Linked DNA regions of Homo sapiens: region 1 is linked to region 2. The links are contacts of gene promoters, found by promoter capture Hi-C in blood cells and fetal thymus (Javierre and others, 2016). All regions are on one chromosome and are shown on one strand. The core of a region is centred on a gene start or on the middle of the fragment in contact, and the rest is flanking DNA. Distances in the headings are between cores, read along the strand shown.

The links. Contacts are between HindIII fragments. The CHiCAGO score rates a contact against its expected background, and 5 or more counts as called.
Region 1: a fragment that was not itself captured here is called in contact with the fragment with the promoter of ITK in region 2 in 2 of 17 cell types (total CD4 T cells and fetal thymus); the score reaches 5.9 in total CD4 T cells.

What each region holds. Positions count from the first base shown.
Region 1 is chr5:154,941,880-154,947,903 of GRCh38, reverse strand. All of the region lies in intron 2 of MRPL22 (mitochondrial ribosomal protein L22), which reads right to left. Among named protein-coding and RNA genes, the nearest start is that of MRPL22, 3.8 kb to the right of the region's middle. The HindIII fragment of the contact is 2,390 bases long and covers 3,478-5,867 here.
Region 2 is chr5:157,176,938-157,182,842 of GRCh38, reverse strand. It overlaps ITK (IL2 inducible T cell kinase), which reads right to left and starts at 2,003. Exons shown (of 17, transcript NM_005546.4): 1 at 1,728-2,003. The coding sequence starts at 1,865. The HindIII fragment of the contact is 39,229 bases long and covers 1-5,905 here.

The sequences.
Region 1 (6,024 bases), core at 3,423-5,922, 2.2 Mb after region 2:
ATGCTTATCCTGTTTTAAGTTCTAGCTCAAATGTCACCTCAATGTGAAACATCACCTAATCCCTTATCTGATCATGATTCTCGCGTTGTCTTAATACTTTGTTCTTGCCAGCCATACAGCAATGACTTAGACCACTGTACTATCGTAAGTGGCTATAATAGAATGAGTTATTGTACTAAGTGTACAGATGTTGAGCATTTAAAGGGCAAGTCCGACTTTCTTTGTATTCTAGCACCAAGAACAATGTCTGGTACGTGGATACTGCGTAAACATTTAACTCAGACTTATATACTCAAAGTGGTTGTATATTGGCATATTCTCATACAAATATGCAACTTGGATGATTTACTTGGCAAACAAAACCTTTGTTTTTAGTCTTCAAGCCATTTAGACCAAAGACTCAAACAAATCTATTCTAGTGTATCATTTTTACCCCAAGTTCACTATCTCCTATCCTAATATCAAGATTAGTGCCATCAAAATACCTAACAAAATCAATACCTTTGCCATCCACATTTAGGTTCCAATGTCTTAACTGAAAAGCACAAAATTAGGATACATGATGTATGAAGGCCTATTTTGCTAAAATAAGCCGAGTGGTGACAGCTGAGGCTACAGAGTCGAGCAGACCTTGGTCTAAATCCTAACTCTAATTTACTAGGTGAATGGCCTTGGGGAAGTCATATAATTTTCTGGGTCTCAGTTTTCCCATCAGTAAATAGACTAATAATAATTACCTCATAGCCTTCTTAAGAAGCTCAAATGCAAGTAAAATACTTAACCTGACACTTAAAAGGGCTCAATAAATTTTAGATATTATTACTTGTAGAATGAGGAAAATAATACTTACTTAATACTGTTGATGGATTAATAATTTAGTGCATCCTACAATGTCTAGCCCATGATAAACACTGATGGCTAGTGTTATTTTTAAATTAGGCCCTTTGGCCAAGTATGGTGGCTCACGCCTGCAATACCAGCACTTTGGGAGGCCACGATAGGAGGACTGTTTGAGGCCAGGAGTTCAAGACCAGCCTGGGCAACATAGCAAGGCCTTGCCTCTGTTTTGTTTATTTTATTTTGAGACAGAGTTTCACTCTTGTCACCCAGGCTGGAATGCAATGGTGCGATCTCAGCTCACTGCAACCTCCGCCTCCTGGATTCAAACGATTCTCCTGCCTCAGCCTCCCAAGTAGCTGGGATTACAGGGACGCACCACCGCACCCCACACCTGGCTAATTTTTGTATTTTTAGTAGAGACGGGGTTTCACCATGTTGGCCAGGCTGGTCTTGAACTCCTGACCTCAGGTGATCCACCCATCTCAGCCTCCCAAAGTGCTAGGATTACAGGTGTGAGCCACCACACCCGTGTTTCTTTTTTTAAGGGCATAAAAAATAAAACAAAGTTAGGCCCTTTGAACAGTTAATCTCTCCTGTCCCCAGCCCCCAAATAAGTCCTGTGAACTGTAAGCTTTAAATACACAATTTCAAAGTTTTTTCTCAAGTTTATAATCATAAACGTTTATGGTTCTATGTAGTTGTAATTAGCGAGTAGGGTACACTATGTTTGTCACCTCTTTGGACCTTGGTTTCTTTGTCTGTGAAAAGAGGAATTAGACTACATCATCTATAAGGCCTCTCCTAACCTTAATTCTATCTCTAATCTCATCACCAACAGCATGACAGAAACATGAACCCCTTTGCTACAAACCAATCTGAAAGATTTCTTGAGTCAGGCCCATACCTGCTGTACCCGCCTAGCACAGTACCTTGCGCTCTTCAAATCTTCAATACATATTTGGTGAATTAAATATGTTGCTTCATAAATTAAACATACTATGAATTAATAATGTCAAAGCTTTCTGAATTCTTATAATACTTTCAGGACTCAAATAATTCATGAACTGAATTATCAAGCAAAGACCAAACTACTATAATCAAATTAAATTAAAGTATTATTCCAAATGGGGTTCTTAATTTAGAAGCACAGAATATCAAATCAAAAGTTCCTATGTGCCCTCTCCTGGCCAATTGCTGGAATAACACTCAATTAAAACAAAATGAAGCAACCTTAAAACAGAAAATACAGACAAATTCTAATTCTAATTATCAGTCCTCATCTGAGAGTGACCTAAGTATCTCTGGTCACTCACTCTTCCTTGAGACACTTTCTTTAATTGGGTTCCAGGACACTTGGGGTTTTCTTCTCCCCTCTCTGGCCACTCCCCCACAGTCTCCTTTGTTGTTTCCTTGTCTCCCTCCCTGGTCTGTAATATTGGCTGCCTTAGGCAGGAATCAATCCTCGGACTCTTTCTATCTACACTCACTCCCTTGGTGAAGTCAACCAGCTTTGCAGCTTTAAACATTATCCATGCATTGATGACTCCCAAATGTACATCCGTTCCCTGAACTCTATAAACTCATATACCCAATTGCCTACTCGTATCTCTACTTGGATGCTTACAACAGCTCAGATTTAACAAACCCAAAAGTGACCTACTAATATTCTCCCCAAACCTGCTCCTCTGGAAGTCTTCCTAGCTCAGTAAGTGGTTAACTCTACCCTTCCAGTTGCTCAGGTCATAAACTTTGGTGTCACCCTTCTTTCTCACACCTCCCATCCAATGCATCAACAAGATCTGTCAGGTGTGGTTAACATACTGCCAGAATCCAACCATTCACTTACCTTCACGGCCACCCTAATCCAAGCCACCATGATCTCATACCTGAAATAGCCAACGGTCTCTGCTTCCATCCTTGCTCCCCATCCCCACCCCAGTCTATTCTCAACACAGCAGCCAGAAAGAACCACTCATAAACATAAGTCAGATCATATAACTCCATGCTCAAAACCTTACAACAGTTTCCCATCTTGCTCAGAATAAAAGCCAAAGTATTTACAAAAAATAATAAGGCTCTATATGATTTATGACTGCCCCTTCCTCTCTGACCTCATCTCCTATCACTATCCCTCTCCTTTTTGTCATTGTTCCTGACACCAGATATGGTTCCTTGGAGCTGTTGCACTTACTATTCTATCTGCACAGAATGCTGTTTGTTCAGATGTTAGCACAGCATGCTTCCTCATTTCCTTCAAATCTTTACTCAAAGATTATCTTTTAGTGAGGCCTTCCCTATCTAAAACTACAAGTTCCTCTCTCAAACACACATACTTCTTATTCTCAATCTCTGCTTTATTTTCTCATAAGCAGATGTCACTATCTAATATACTCTATATTTTACTTATTTTGCTTATTTGCCCCCCTTACTATATTGTACACCCCACAATGGCAAGGGATTATTGTCTGTTCCTGTTCCCTGCAAAATCCTCAGTGCTAGAATAGTTCCCAGCTCAGAGCAGGCACTAAATACATATTTGTAGAATCAATGAAAGAATACAGAGACAGGTAAGGTAAGAGGACTGAGTGTAAATAACTATGCCAAAATTTTACACATGGTTGGAAACTGAGGAAAGCTTAAGAGGATATGCCCCCATCTAAAGGGTGGTACAGACAGGCTTGGTGGCTCACGTCTGTAATCCCAGAGACTCGGGAGCCTGAGGTGGGAAGATCACTTGAGCCCAAGAGTGCGAGACCAGCCTGTACAACATAGTGAGACTCTGTCTCCTAAAAAAAAATATTTTTTTGGCTGGGCGTGGTGGCTCATGCCTGTAATCCCAGCACTTTGGGAGGCCAAAGCGGGCGGATCGTTTGAGCCTAGGAGTTTGAGACCAGCTTGGCCAACATGGTGAAACCCCATCTCTACTAAAAATACAAAACTTAGCCAGGTATGGCGGCCTGCACCTGTAGTCCCAGAAAATATTTTGTTTAGATCCTCACTTTGACATTTAACTGTGTAACCTTCAGTAAGTCACAAAACTTCTCAAATGTATGCATCAGTAAAATAGGAGACTTGGAATTCAAAAACTGAAAACTGTCAGTCAGCTAACAAATATAGCCTACAGAGTAATCCCAGCACTTTGGGAGACTGAGGTGGGAGATTACTTAAGCCCAGGAGTTTCAGACCAGCCGGGCAATATAACAGGACTTTGTCTCTACTAAAACTCAAAAAAAAGTCAGGTGTAGTAGTGCACGCCTGTGATCCCAGCTGCTTGGGAGGCTGAGTTGGGAAGATGGCTTGAATCGAGGCTGCAGTGAGCTATGATCATGATACCGCACTCCAGCCTGGGTGACACAGCAAAACGCTGTCTTTAAAAAAAAAAAAATTTTAATATCTATATATATATGTGTGTGTATATACATGTATGTATGTGTATATATGTATATATATGTGTATATATGTATATATGTGCATATATGTGTGTATATATATATATATCCTGCAGAAATGTTTTATTTGGTCAGCAGCAGTTTTCTTAACCTAATTCAATGTTTTTAGATGAGGAATACACTCTACTGACCACCACAGGCCCTCCCACTCTCATTTTACATAGACAACTTCCCTTAGTTTATTTATTTCTAGTCTGGGGCCTATATGCAATTAAGTTTCCTGGCGGCTCATGCCTGTAATCCCTCCAGGCCAAGGCAGGAGGATCACTTGAGCCCAGGAGTTAGAGACCAGCCTGAGCAACACAGCAAGACCCTAAAAATTAGCCAGGTGTGATGGCATGCACCTGTAGTTCTAGCTACTTAGGAAGCTGAGGTGGGAGCCCGGGAGTTTGAGGCTGCAGTGAGCTATGATCACAGCACTGCACTTCAGCCTAGGCACAGAGCGAGACCGTGTCTCCAAAAAAAAAAGGAAAAAAAAGTTTCTCATCACTGAATCAGATTATATGCTAAAATTTTACATGGTTATCATGAACATTATTTATACCTTTCTACTTAGTTTTCTTATGGTCATTTTCCCCACTAGAAAATCCAAAATAAGGATTCACAAAATTATGTAATAACTTCAGAATTGCAAATAGCCTTAGAGATTATCTAGCAAAATCAAACACTCTTGTATCATGACATAGAGGAAAAGACTAAAGGCAAACTGCTTAAGTTTCTTGCTCAGAGCTTCTTAATACAAGTTGGTGCAAGACAATTCAAATCAACATCAAAATACTTGCCTGTGTAAGACCTTATGCTGGAGGTACAACAATAAATAAATGTCCCTACTTCTCCAAGATACACAAGCTAGTAAAGGGCACATACACATATACATGAAGTCATCATAGAAGGCACACATGCTAAAAGGAAGGAAAAACTAATTTCTTTCCGTTTTAGAGAAACCAGTGAAAACTTCCTGAAGGGAAAACATCTGAACAGAGGTTTGAATAATGGGTAGGACTGCTGTTATAGACAAGATGTGAGGGCATAGTAGGAAAAGCCAAGAAGCAAGTAAGTGCAAAGTATATTCAGAAAAAGTAAGTAAATCAGCATGGTTGGGGGAAGAGTGATAGAAGATTATCTAAGAAGAGTACAGACAAATCCTAAGAGCTACTACTTCCTATTTTCTTCTTTAGCCCACCTCTTTATCCCCCTCGGACCCAAAAACTTAGAAAAGGGTTAAATATAATTGGGAACTCAGTAATAATTTATAATAATAAAAACATTAATGGCAACTAGAATTCAGAGTGGGATTATCACATGCCATAAACATACTAAATACTTCATATGCATTATCTTGTTTGAATTTCCTTTTTAAAATCTACTAGAGCTACATAGATGGCATGTGCCTGTAATCCCAGTACTTCAGGAGGCTGAGGCAAGAGAATTGTTTCAGCCCTTAAGTTTGAGACCAGCATGGGCAACATAGCAACACTTCATCTAAAAAAATAAATAAATAAAAATTAAAAAATTTTTTAAATCCTAAGAGATAGGTACTAACATAACGCTCATATCATAAAAGTGATAACTGAAGCTTATTAAGAATAAGTAACTTTTCCAAGATCACAGTTAAAAAATGGATTCATATACAACTCATCTGTCTGCAAAGCCTATGAACTAAACCAAAATCAATGCTAACAAATGGACAGACCAGAAAATTTACAATCAGATTATCAATTTTCAAATACCGATT
Region 2 (5,905 bases), core at 754-3,253:
TCACAATCAGTTCACAAATAGCAGTTGGGCTAAGGAATTATTAATACTAACTAAATGAGATGATACTATGTTGAATCAGAAAAACGAACTGGTGAAAACTGCAAAATGGACTTTGAAAAAAATATTTAAAGGTACATGACTGTTCTTTCAATATGAAACAAAAACTTTAAATGTTCCATTCACAAAAAAGCATTGAGTAATGCCATGCGATTTATTAGCTCTACATGATAAATCCCCCAAGTTCACAAACTGGGCTCCTGGCCACCTAGCAAAGAGGACTTGCACGTAATTCCATGTGTTTTCTGATTGACTGGTAAATTGTTATCAGTAAGAGTCTGATAATAAGACAAGCAATTCTTTTCACTTCTAAAGAGGCAGAGCTATTTCGCCTGCAACTTTTTTGTTTTCTGTATTTTTTTAATTCACAAAAGACATGCAACACCTGCAACTTTAAAAAGTGAGGCATCCATAGGCTCTATACCCAGCCTGACCTCCTCTGGAGCTCCATCTCATGAAGTGCTTTAAACCCTGGCACACCAAAGAATCCCAAACTCATGCCACCACCTACTAAGTCAGACTCCAACAAAGAACTGGAGCACTTTTGTTTCTAAGTGACCATCAGGCACCTAATATTATTTTCCCTTCAGTAAAATATAAGTGATAATCCTTGTCCTACCCCACTAATGATGTAAAAATAATATAACCATACAGTAAGAAATCAAACATGCTTTGAAAAATTGCAGCATAGGGCTAAACAAGAGCCACTGCATAAAGCAAAGAAGTTTTGAAGAAGAAAGGGATCTTGAAGGTTGTTATTTCCAGTTTTTTCATTTTATGAAGAAAGAACCTGAAACAGGAGGTAGACATTTGCCCAGACTGGATCACCTACTGAGAAGTAGAGTTTGGTCTCCTGACCCTTTGTCCAATGCTTTTTCTACCAAACTACATTATTAGGATTATTCCTGTTGCTTTTGTTATTAGTGATGTTAAGAAGCACAAGACTATTTTTAGATAAAGAGATAGACTGACCTAGCAAAGCAGCCATACTCCTTCTGGGTAAGAACCGCTGGTCTGCACTGCAGAAACTTTGTTCTTAATAACCCTGGTGTCCTAAGAAGTCTATCAAGAGATGAAGAGGTTTGCCATTGTGCCTTACAACTTTTAGATAATTAAATGCCTGGGAAATCTTATTTCAAGATCAGGCTAGCGACGAGTATTGAGACAAACAGAGTTATTCATGAAAACGTTAACACTGAACCCAAAACTTAACCATTCTAAACACCAGTTTCTTCCACTAAAAAATAAGAAAGCTGGGGTAGATCATCCCATTGAATGCTAGTGTTGTATTAATCTATGTTTCATTAAATTTAGTATGTTTCATTAAATTTAGTATGTTTCATAGAAAGTTCAAGTTTTATCGAATCATAATACTTGCTACCTAAAATGTTATTCATAATTTAAAAACCAAACATAACCTTGCAGGGGGAAAAAGCTGATGAATGTTAAATTTACAGTTTTTAGAACTGAAATCACCTAGCACCACCATTTCACCTCTTGACTGCTCTCTGCATTCTCCTCTGATTACTTTTACTGTACTTTTTATGTTGTTACAATAAGCATGTTTGTGTTTCCTGTGCTCTATTTTATGCTATGTATATATTTTTGCATTAGCCCAGTCCAAACATAAAATGCTATGCGAAAAAAGACAAATGAAACTGCTCACATACCCCATGACGATCTTCAAAGTATGCCAGGCTGGCTTTGGTTAACACAAAGAAGCGGACTTTAAAGTTCGAGGGAGAAGTTCTTCTCTTTTGTTGGGATTTCTTGATGAGCTGTTCTTCCAGGAGGATAAAGTTGTTCATGATCCAGTTCTTGAAAGGTGGTGCACCTTGGGCATCACCTCTTAGCACAACCAAAGGAAAGAGTTTTGGGGCAAAGAATGCAATGTGGAGGCAGTTGATCTTCAGAGAGCTGCTCAAGGGCAACTTGCCTTCAACGTTATCTTTCTATCAACGTTCAGCCAACATAGCTGAGCTTCTCCTCTGATGTCAAAGGCCGAAACCACATCCTTTCAAAATTCACAAAACGAGGAGGCATATGTAAAAAATACATACAGCCTTTGCTAATGGCTTGAAATGATATTTGAAAAACTGTAAACTCAAAATTGTGGTAAGGATTACAGTTTAATCTTTATAGTTCCTGGTTTAATCCATCCAGCAGTTAAATCATGTAGCACAAGGAGTAAGGACAATGTGTGGTTTTGCTTACCATGATATACTCAGCAACCATCACAGTACCTGACACATAAAACAGATGTTCAAGAAAAATTTGTTGAATGGATCATCACCAAATTGGGTTGGACAATTAAAAGAGGTAATGAGCACAAAACCCTCACACATTAAAGTGAAGAAATATGTTGCTGAAGTTTATTAGTTTTTAAGATTTAAATTAAAGCCCATAGAAATTTCTCAATGCTACATATAGATGACTGCCTTTCTGTCCTGACGTTTTGTGGAAGAGTGAAAAATAAGTGAATCCTTCAGAATGGCATAATAAACAAAGTATATGTGGGCTTTGAAAACAGACAAACTTGTGTTGGATTCCCAGCTCTGTCACTTACTATGCTGTTTCTCTTTGAGCAAGCCATGACTTCTCTGATCCTTAGCTTCCTTGTGAGGGTCCTTTGGAGGACTGAATCCCATACATCTTATGAATGGTAGGTGCTAGTCATACATGTCACCTTAGAGTTAGTACATAGTTGAAGTATAATGTGTGACAGTTACCTCTACTATGTTAATAATCAAGAGATTTTAGTGTAAGCAGATATTGCATGTAGTGGGTAGGGATAAATAATAAATGAAATAATAATTATTGCTGTATAGGAGTGAAATTCTCCAATGTTTATTTTTAAATGTAAATTACCAGACAACAGCCTAATTTTATTTCATATACTGGATGCCCCAGCATAATCAAGACACCCAGGAGGGTACGGTACTGGTATATTTTAAATTACCTCCCCCATTCTGAGATTCTTAAGACATATGTGTGGAAATACACTGCCCAAACAAGATAGTATTTTTTTTTTCTGAGTATGGGCTTGAGGTAGGGATTGCTACTATTCCCAAATAGCTACTCTCTCCTTCTTACTAGAGTAACAGAATCCCTGACAGTTATCTGGGCATCTGGCCAGCAAGAATAAAGACTACAAATTTTAGCCTCCCTTGTAGCTAGGTGTAGTTGTATGACTGTCTTCTGGTCAACTGAATGTAGCAGAAGTCGTGTGCACAACTTCTAGGAAATTTCCTTAGTGGGATCTGTCATCCCCTTTTCTTTCCCTTTTCCTCCTGCCTTGTGACTAGAATATTGAGGTAACAGTTGGAGCTGAAGCAGCTATCTAGTATCATGAGGTGGAAATTGAATGTTGAGGACAATGGAGTATAAGATAGAAAGAGCCTGGGACCCTGGTGACCATGGATCTTCCATGCCAGCCCTGGATTACATTTTTTAATATCTATTTTCTAAGTCTCAGTTATTTTGAGGTTTCTGTCACTACCAGCAAACCTAGATAATACAGTGCTATCTTCTCAAACTAGACTACAAACTCCTCTGAGGAAAGTACATTTTACACCTGCTTGGTTCAGATGAAAAGAGTTATAGACTTCACAAAGTGTTCTCATCCGGGAAAACAAAATATCATCAGTAGCTGTTGCAATACTTAGGAGTCTTTCGTTTGCTCAGTCTACATGGAGTGTCATCGTAAGTAATTTTATTCTCTTTCTCATAGAGCCATCAAACCCACTAACTGAGACTCATCTTTGCCAACTTTTAAATGCAAACTTAGGAGGCTCAATATTTTTTTCTCACTTTAAGGAAAACATAAACAAAAACAAATAGTCCCTTTGTTTGTTTTGGTTTTAAAAAGTTCACTTCATAGGAGCCAAATTCAAGGAGTTCCCACTTGCCAAAGATGGAACAATTTGAGTATCAAAAGGAATAATAATTGCCATGAATTGAAGAACAGCAAAAATGTTAAAACAATGAGTTCAAAAGAGAATTGAAAAAAGCATCCCAACCTTTTGATCACTTTTGGAGGATGCTGAAGAACCAACTTGTTTTTCTGAAAACTGGAAACAAAGGAAAAAAATAAAACATATTGCTTGCTTTTCTTGAAGAATTATCTTTCAATTCAGTGATCAAGTATTTAATGAGGAAGTTCTTTTTTTCCAAGAAACTAATCAATGAAGGAGTGACAGAATACTATCGTTTTGCAATGCCAATGAAATAATAAATGTAGGCAATGATCATCAATGGCTGTTAAAATTATTACGCAAAAAGCCAATAGGAAAATGTATAACTGTCATATGAAGCTGACAACACTGTAACACACTGATTAATCTTAAAAGAAGGACAACCAGACATTGTATGTCTCCTGAGGTGAAGCAAGAGGAAGTACACAAAACTGGCAACTCGGGAGTCTTGCCAAGAGAAAACAAAATCAAACACAAATCTAATCAAACTTCGAGATATAAATTCGAGTTTACAGGAAATACAAGAGATAAACGAACCTGACAAATGACACTGTGGAGATGCAATTGGATGAGTCCAGAATACAAAACATGCTAAGGACAAATGACTCAGTATCAGTAACAAATAAGTCATAGAGGGCAGGGCACGGTGGCTCATGCCTGTAAGCCCAGCACTTTGGGAGGTCAAGGGGGTGGATTGCTTGAGCCCAGGAGCTTAAGACCAGCCTGAACAACATGGTGAAACCCTTTTTCTACAAAAAATTAGCCAGGCATGGTGGCACACACCTGTAGTCCCGCCTACTCGGGAGGCTGAAGTGGGAGGATCACTTGAGCCCAGTGGGTGGAGGTTGCAGTGAGCTGGGATTGCAGCACTGTACTCCAGCCTGGGTAACAGAGCCAGACTCTGTCTCAAAAAACAAAAGCAAAACAAAACAACAAATAAATCAAAGGGGGAACCCTTAGATTAAAAGAGACTTTAAGAGACATATGAGCATGTTTGGACTTTGGATTAAGAGTTAAGCAAATCAACTGTATAAAGACGTTATGAGACAATTAGACAAATTTGAATGTTAAAGAGATGTTTGATAATACTGAGAAACTTGTTATTTTTTAAGATGTAATAATGGGCTGGGTGTGGTGGCTCACACCTATAATCCCAGCACTTTGGGAGGCTAAGGTGGGCGGATCACGTGAGGTCAGGAGTTCGAGACCAGCCTGGCCAACATGGTGAAATCCTGTCTCTACTAAAAATACAAAAGTCAGTGGAGTGTCGTGCTGTGTGCCTGTAATTCCAGCTACTTGGGAGACTGAGGCAGGAGAATCGCTTGAACCTGGAGGGCGGAGGTTGCAGTGAGCTGAGATGGTACCACTGCACTCCAGCCTGAGCAACAGAGCAAGACACCATCTCAAAAAAAAAAAAAAAAAAGATGTAATAATGGCACTATTATCATGTTAAAATAGTCCTTATTTTGTATAGAAACATACACTGAATTATTGATAAAACAATAAAATGTTTATGATTTGCTTCATCATAATCCAGTGGAGGGGGAGAAATTGGTAGGGGAAGGGATGAAAACTGTTTGACCATGACTTGATAATTGCTAAAGCTGGCTAATGGGTACATCATTATTCTACTCTCCTTGCACCGATGCACGTTTGAAAATTTCCATAATAAAAAGTTAAGCAAAGAAAAAGGGGCTGGGCGCGGTGGCTCACGTCTGTAATCTCAGCACTTTGGGAGGCCGAGGCGGGTGGATCACCTGAGGTCAGGAGTTTGAGACCAGCCTGGCCAACATGGTGAAACCCCGTCTCTACTGAAAATACAAAAATTAGCTGGGCATGGTGGCAGGTGGCTGTAGTCCCAGCTACTTGGGATA